Linked DNA regions of Homo sapiens: region 2 is linked to region 1. Evidence: promoter capture Hi-C in 16 types of primary human blood cells and fetal thymus (Javierre and others, 2016). All regions are on one chromosome and are shown on one strand. The core of a region is centred on a gene start or on the middle of the fragment in contact, and the rest is flanking DNA. Distances in the headings are between cores, read along the strand shown.

Evidence for each region. Contacts are between HindIII fragments. The CHiCAGO score rates a contact against its expected background, and 5 or more counts as called.
Region 2: a contact is called between a fragment that was not itself captured here and the fragment with the promoter of OSTN-AS1 in region 1, in 1 of 17 cell types (total B cells). The highest score is 5.2, in total B cells.

The regions. Positions count from the first base shown.
Region 1 is chr3:191,231,972-191,236,251 of GRCh38, forward strand. OSTN-AS1 (OSTN antisense RNA 1) reads right to left here and starts at 2,634. Exons shown (of 6, transcript NR_133663.1): 1 at 2,601-2,634. The region is part of intron 3 of OSTN (osteocrin); the gene reads left to right. The HindIII fragment of the contact is 7,111 bases long and covers 1-3,340 here.
Region 2 is chr3:191,331,551-191,335,377 of GRCh38, forward strand. All of the region lies in intron 1 of CCDC50 (coiled-coil domain containing 50), which reads left to right. It also overlaps a transcript of UTS2B not described here. Among named protein-coding and RNA genes, the nearest start is that of UTS2B, 2.9 kb to the left of the region's middle. The HindIII fragment of the contact is 1,965 bases long and covers 269-2,233 here.

The DNA of each region.
Region 1 (4,280 bases), core at 1,384-3,883:
TACATAAAATATTTTAAATATTATATTTATTAATACCTAAAATAAGATGTAAAGATATGTCTGCAAACAATAGCTGTGGCTGGGTGCGGTGGCTCATGCCTGTAATTCCAGCACTTGGGGAGGCCGAGGCAGGCAGAGCACCTGAGGTTAGGAGTTCGTGACCAGCCTGGCCAACGTGGTGAAATCCCGTCTCTACTGAAAATACAAAAATCAGCCAGGCGTGGTGGCACTCAACTGTAATCCCAGCTACTCGGGAGGCTGAGGCATGAGAATCGCTTGAACACGTGGGAGGCGGAGGTTTCAGTGAGCCAAGATTGTGCCACAGCACTCCAGCCTGGGTGACAGAGGGAGACTCTGTCTAAAAAAAAAAAAAAAAAAAAAAAAAAAAAATTGTTGTAACTAGTGCAGAACATAACCATTTCAAAGCATCTGTGATAATTAAAATGTGCTTTGAAAGTATTTGTGATTTATATGAGTAACAATGTTCAGACACAACTATTACTATTATTTTTTTCTATATTCATAAAGTAAATGCTATATATATATATATAAAATTATGTTTATTTTTATTTTTATTTTTTGAGATGGAGTCTCACTCTGTTGCCTAGGCTGAAGGGCAGTGACTAAATCATTTTTTTTTTTTTTTGAGACGCAGTTTTGCTCTTGTTGCCCAGGCTGGAGTGCAATGGTGAGATCTCGGCTCACTGCTCCCTCCACCTCCCAGTTTCAAGTGATTCTCCTGCCTCAGCCTCCCAAGTAGCTGGGATTATAGGCATGGGATTATAGGTGCCTGCCACCACACCTGGCTAATTTTTGTATTTTTAGTAGGGACTGTGTTTCTCCATGTTGGCCAGCCTGGTCTCGAGCTCCTGGCCTCAAGTGATCTGCCCACCTCTGCCTTTCAGAGTGCTGGGATTACTGGTGTGAGCCACTGCGTTCGGTCATAAATGCTATCTTTCATTTACAGGTTAATGGAACTAAAGATGTAACCCTTTCCCATCTACACGTATAGGCCCCTGAATTATATTGCTCCATAATCCCAGATTTTAAAACTCTGAGTCACCAGGGTACAAAACATATTATTTAATTCTATATTACTATAAAATATCAGAAAAGAAAAAGGAAATTAACTCTACTTTCAAAAAGGTCCACCAGGAGATGGAAACAAAAAAATTCATGAAAGCTAGGGAAAACAAAAATGAAAAGAAACAAATATAAAAAGCTAAACAGGGAAAACCCTATATCAGGTCATATTAACTTGAAATAAAGAACCACCTGTTGTTTCCTATTTTGTATTGCTTAACACATTTTTACCTGAATAGGACACTAGCTTCATTTTCTGATTCATGTGCAAATTACTTCAATTCTCCGGGCAACACTAACTCAACTATACTTTGAAGCCCAAAATATTTTTCTCATTTCCATTCACTTGTTTAAAGTCTGAAGTTACCATTTTATTTCTGTTTTCTTTTTTTCGTTTTTTGAGACAGAGTCTTGCTCTGTCACCCAAGCTGGAGTGCAGTGGCAAAATCTCAGCTCACTGCAACCTCCACATCCCGGGTTCTAGCGATTCTCCTGCCTCAGCCTACCAAGTAGCTGGGACTCCTGATCTCAAGTGATCTGCCTGCCTCAACCTTCCAAAGTGCTAGGATTACAGGCATGAGCTACCACGCCCTGACTTTTTTCTGGAAGAATAGTATCTACTATCTGACTGACTCTTTAACATTAGAAGATATTGACGGCCAGGCACTGTGGCTCATGCCCTTAATCCCAGCACTTTGGGAGGCCGAGGCAGGCAGATCATCTGAGGTTGGGAGTTTGAGACCAGCATGACCAACATGGTGAAACACCATCTCTACTAAAAATACAAAATTTGCTGGGTGTGGCGGCGCATGCCTGTGATCCTAGCTACTTGGGGGCTGAGGCAGGAGAATCACTTGAGCCCAGGAGGCGGAGGTTGCAGTTAGCTGAGATCACACCATTACACTCCAGCATGGGTCACAAGAGCGAAACTCCATCTCAAAAAAAAAAAAATTGATGATTGGCCTAGAATTTTTCTAAATAATGGTTTCTCTCACTCCTTCACACAACACTAAAAATGTCTTGCAAATAATAACAATAATAGTGCTCTATATTTGAATTCAATTACTATTAAATATTTGTACAACTCTTATTGCTTTAATTCTCCCATTTAATATTTTAGGTCAGTAAAGCAAGAAATGCTATTGGGTTAGGGTTCCAACAAGAAATAGGTGTCACCTTTGAAATAGGAAAATTTGAGGAGGGTTTTTTCAAAGGAAGACTATTTACAAAACTCTGGGTACAGGTAGATTATAATGGATGGCACAGCAGCCCACGGTGGCCTGAAAAGACAAGAAAGGAAGAGGTTTCCAAAAGTCAGAGAGTCACAGAGTTTCAGATGCCTTGAGAAAAGTAGTGACTTGGCCGGGTGCAGTGGCTCATGCCTGTAATCTCAGCACTTTGGGAGGCCGAGGCAGGTGGATCGCCTGAGGGTAGGAGTTTGTCACCAGCCTGGCCAGCAAAGCGAAACCCCGTCTCTACTAAAAATATAAAAATTAGCTGGGTGTGGTGGCACGCGCCTGTAATCCCAGCTCCTTGGGAAGCTGAGGCAGGAGAATCGCTTGAACCCGGGAGGCAGAGGTTGCAGTGAGCCAAGATCACGCCATTGCACTCCAGCCTGGGCAACAGAACGGGACACCATCTGAAAAAAAAAAAAAAAAAAGCAAAGCACAAAAAGAAAAGAAAAGTAGTGACTTTTCTTCAGGAGCATACTCCCGGGAAGAGGTCTTGCAAGGAGTGGCCAGGAGAAAATTATCCTGACCTCTCTCCTCCTCTTCCTCTATTCTGTCTTCCCCAAATTATCTATTGCTTGATCCACACCAAAGCCAGAGGGCACAGGAACATTTATATGTTCCAAAAAGATCAGCCTCCTAGGACTGAAAGTAGGGTGAGAAAAGGCAGCATACATCTGAGAGCAGAGGGAAGATAGCCAGCAAAATTATACACATTCTGTAGATTTAGGTCAAGAAACACTTTGCTCCAGAATATTGTTATTATACCACCTAATTGAAAGAGAAAAACTCCATAAGTCATAATCAGAAAAAACAGCTTTTCCTCCCATCCCCATGCATTCCAACCCACTCAGTGGTAGTTGTTGTTCCCTACCCCTTGAGTAAACCCAAAGGCAGGTATTAATGGCTCTACTGGCCACATCAAAATAATAAGAATCCCTATGGTTACTTGTACTAGAAAAATAACCATATAACAGTAATTCAAATAACCATTCTTATATGTGACCCCAAACCATGAATACTAATAAAGCTTCTCTTTTCCCTAGCTTGGACCCCATTCATCCTGGAAGGCTTCAGTGGGAAGGAGCTTGTGGCCAGTTTATATTCACAATCTCCCCTATCACAGTAGGCTGCCTTTTGTCTCCTCCAGAACTGGGGATGGAGATGCATGCAGAGAAGTAAAACAAAGTCTTACTTGACATAATATCATGACCTGTCTTTGTGCCCTCATGGCTTTGGTGAATGCTCAAAGCTGACTCATCTTGGAATGTTTCTGGGGGTCACATAACCCCCAGTGCGAATAGTAACATAGGCGTCCTTACCTCCAATAATACTCCTCTTCTGGCAGATCTGCTATGCCCCTCATCCTCACCCTACTCTCTCATCTTCTGCATTTGACACCACCATCAGCATCCTGATGAGTTTGCTTCCCCCATCAGCCCTGACAGAAAGCCCTTGGGGCAAGGTCCCTTTTATAATTGACCCAGGCTGACTCTCTCCACATGCTCTACATCTGCCCACAGAAAACCCACATCCTTGACTCTCATTACTGAAAGTGAAGCAGTTCTTGGTGCAGTCATCTCTTCAGTCTGGTATCAAGCCAATTCTCACAGCTTCTTGCCCTTTAGATTTCATAGACACTATTTTATTAGGTTCACCATGCTTCAATGGACATATTTTAAACTCGAAGTGTTTTTCTCAAAGCCCTTTCCCCATATGAAGGAGGAAGGAAAATGCCATTGTTTTTCAATAACTTGCTCCCAAGAAATTCTCCCTTCCTGAGCTATTCAATATGAATCCTTTTATTGGATTGAAGTTGGAAAAAACTAAGTTTGTAGCAACCTCCTTTGGAAGTACTACATAAGTCTAGCACCTCACTTTGGAATGCAAAACGAAATACTTCCCACATACTTTCTCTCTTTCTGTCTCTTTTTTACTCAGCCTTTTAAAGCCACAGCCAAAAACTGA
Region 2 (3,827 bases), core at 1-2,500, 98 kb after region 1:
TGGCTCTTTCATTAAGTTACAATTAAATATTAATTTTGAAGGTGGTCAGGAATCGATGAGATCACTGTCTTTGTAAACATCTGACTTTTCTAGTTCCAAGATCATCAAAGGAAGTGATGTATTATACTAGGAATGTCCTACTAATGGTGGTGAAGTTTTTGATCTGAGAAGTATTCAAGTCTAATAAAGTGTATCCTTCCCTAATATAACTCTTAATTATGGCCCAGTTACTCCCTAACAGTGTCTTTATCCTAATTAAAGAGAATGAAGCTTGTGCCCCTGATAGGGTAAAACATGTGCAAACATTGAGACTGTGGTAATATTGAAACTCCAACTTCATTTGAGAAGGGTTAGTAGTAGTAATTAGTTTAATATTCTGATGCAGATTTTTGAACCCCATTCAAAAAAATCCCTGTATCTGTCTCCTCTACTTTTTAATTTAAACTTTTGATAGATATATATGCAGTTACAATTTATATTCAATTTGGTATCATGGGGTAGATTCCAATAGAGATTAAGAAGAATAGTGCAGTGAGTGTGTGCCCGTTTCCATTGCTGTTTAGGAGGGGATGGGGCACCCTGTGACCTTTTGTCGTGAACATTTCAATAGAGGTCGTGGGTAGCAGCTGACATTAGGGTAAGGGGATATTTAAAAATCTTCTTTCCTAGGTTGAAATCTAATGCTTGCTTACTTAGTTTTTAAGGAAGTCAAAAATATTCATCATTTGGACAGACCTTTTGAAAAAACACACACACATACACCTATGGTAGTATTTATACCTTGGTAAATCTCTTAAACTGGGAGACAAAGGGAAATGATTGAGTTCATATGTAGGTGAAAAGAATCAAGTCAACTAAGTGTCAACACATCATTTTTTCTGGTTAAAAGTGTGTTTGGAACATCTGTATACTTTTTGTAATGGAAAACGCTGTTGCCAATATTCAGGAATAATACTCTATTTCTTCTGAAACATTTGAGGTTCTAGATTTGAAATAATTTCCAGCCATTTTAAACTTCAGTAGGTCTATAACTGAAATGCAAAATGCAATTTGCGAATGTTAGGGAAAGGAACAGGCATGTTTCAACAATATTCTGAAAGTTTCTTGGAGTTCAGAGCTGGAAACATATTTTTGTAAAAAACTTTTAATCAGTTGACAAACTTACATTTTTCAGGGGGTCAGTTTTAGCTTCTTCATTGAATTTTTCTTTTCTGAACCAGCAATCAAGACTCCCTACTTCCTTTTGCTCTCCAAGTTCCTGTATCGGTAAATGAATTGTCCACTTGCTGTAATTTTGCCATTTAGCCCTCTCTAACCAAGATGTTGATCGAGGCCTTTCTAGACATTTTGGCGTTTCATCAACTTCTTTGCAATTTCTTAAGCATTAGAGCTTTACCACTTTTAGCCATGCAGTGCATGCTTTCAACCTCTCCTATTTTCTCCAAGTGTTAATCTTTATTTTTCTTTCCTTACAGCAGTTCTCTCAATCTCATTTTTATGTTCAATTCTTACATTCTTTAGGTGGAAAGTTCCACTGTCTCAAAGTTGGTGAATTCTGTGTGTGTTGGTGTGCATGTGTGTGCTTAACATCTGAAATCAGTTTACCTAGGAGTGACTTACTTCTTGAAGTACAGGTAGCTAGCTATTCTGGGAGCAAATCCTTTTTCTTTAGTGAAAGATACAATTTAATACATTTTTAGAAATGTCTGTAAAAGGAAACATACCTAGAAAGCACTGATTTATTTTAGGTTCAGGGCACTCCAGTGGCATAATGTGTTAAATTAAGTTAATGGCGTACATCCAGACCTTCAAGGGGGAAAGATATAAAATTATGTCTGGTACCATCAGTGAACCCAGTAGTCTAAGAAATTTAGAGCTTATCACATGCACACTAGGCATCTAAACAGATGGCAGTGTCCATGAGATGTACATATATCTGGCTACACGGCAAACCCACTTTCCCTGTTTTTCAAAATTCCATAACAGTTTTTGTTTTGGTTGTTGGTTTTTAATGAGACCCTGGCTGGATCTCTTGGAGCTAGGAGGTTTATGTCTTAGTTATCTTGCTGTACCCTCATTTGGATGAATGTCTTTTATGTAATCAGCAACTATTCAGTAAATATTTGCATGTGTGAATAAATGAATGAGTGAATGAATGAATACATTATTATTCTCTGTTGGTTTAGGAATCTTGTCTCTGGCATAATTATTTTGTATTCTTTTTCAGAGTATAAGCTTTTAAAAGGCAGAGATAATACCTTTTAAACTGTGTGTATCACTTATTTATACCAGCATTAAATTTATAAAAACTTCGAATTTTTTTCTAATTTTTTATAGGTATGTCTTGTAAATAGAATTCATTCAACATAGATATGTATTACATAGAAAAATTAAAGAAAGTAATTTGTTGCTTTCTTTTCTGACTTTGGAGATAATCATTAAGAATAGAATTTTAGTAAAATTTTCTAAATGCTATTTTGTGTTTTTGATTTTTACTTGAGTAATAATAGGTTTAATTTTTTGTTCTAAGTACAAAGCAATATCACTCAATTTGGGAGCAGGAAGGAATCTTAGATAATTTGCATATCTGCTGTGTGCCACATGTTGTGTTGAGGGTATTTCCACAATAAAAAAAAATTTTCCATGGTACATGAACATGATCTTTGCTGTGGTATAGAATGCATGGAGTTGTTGAAAGAACTGTCTGAATTCATATGTGCACCAAAAATGGCTTTCACAAAAGGGAAGAAAATAGTATATTGCCATATGTAGACTTGCATTACTTTTTTGAATGAAGAAGGGAATTTTCAAATGGATGTAACTGTTAATTTGTAAAATATATATTTTTTAAACAGGTACTTAACGGACGACTCACACGTGGGAAACCATAGTTAATTGGTACTTTAAAAAGAGATTTCAGAGTAGAAAGCACTAAAAACCACTGTTCTAGGCCAACTTCCTTATTTTCCAGATGAAAATCCCAGGGTCAGGGAGGGCAAGTGAGTTGTATTAAACCACTGAGGCTAAGTAGCTAGGAATTGGCACATTGGGGCCTAGAATTAGAAAAGTTTAGAACTGTGAGTAGTTGCTTACACAGCTTATTCTTCCCTCCATTTCTTTTTACCTACCTTCTCTTTTCCTTTTCCTCCTTCCCTCTCTTCCCCTTCTTTCTTTTAAATTGTTCTGTAGATGCGAAAGATTCATTTCTGATGTGTTTCATTTATGTGATATGCCATATGTTTAAGACAGTAGAATGAAAATAATAAGGCTTTTTCTGAGGATAGTTATTTTAAGGATAATGTATCATATGGATGCTGAGTTAACATACAATTTTTTACAACTTTTAGTTTTGATTCAGCAAATGAATTACTGAGTGAACTGTAGGAAGTCACACTCTTGCCTCACTGTTTTTTCTACCTGAAAAGTCTTGCAAAAATGCATGTCTTCTCTGGTATATTCATTCTAAAGAGGCTAATATTTAAAGGTAGAAACTCTAAAATTAAACGTATTGGAGAAATAAAGTCATAGGCCATGGTCTTTCCTCAGCCCTTGTTAGGGACTTAACAGTTTTTGTTGAGATAAATAAATTTTTCCTCAGTGACAAAAAACATGTGAGTTTCATTCATAAAGAAAACAGTTATGGAGACCACTAAACTTAAGTAAATGCTGCTTGAAATCCCAGTTCTCCAAGGTACAGAAGCATATTTAGAAGTGAATTGCTTTGATCCATAGAGGAGAAAACAAACATTCAAACAACTATATTTGCTGTTTCAGAGGTAGCCACTGGAAGTGCCATTGGATTAATGTTTTTAACTGGTGACTCGTTT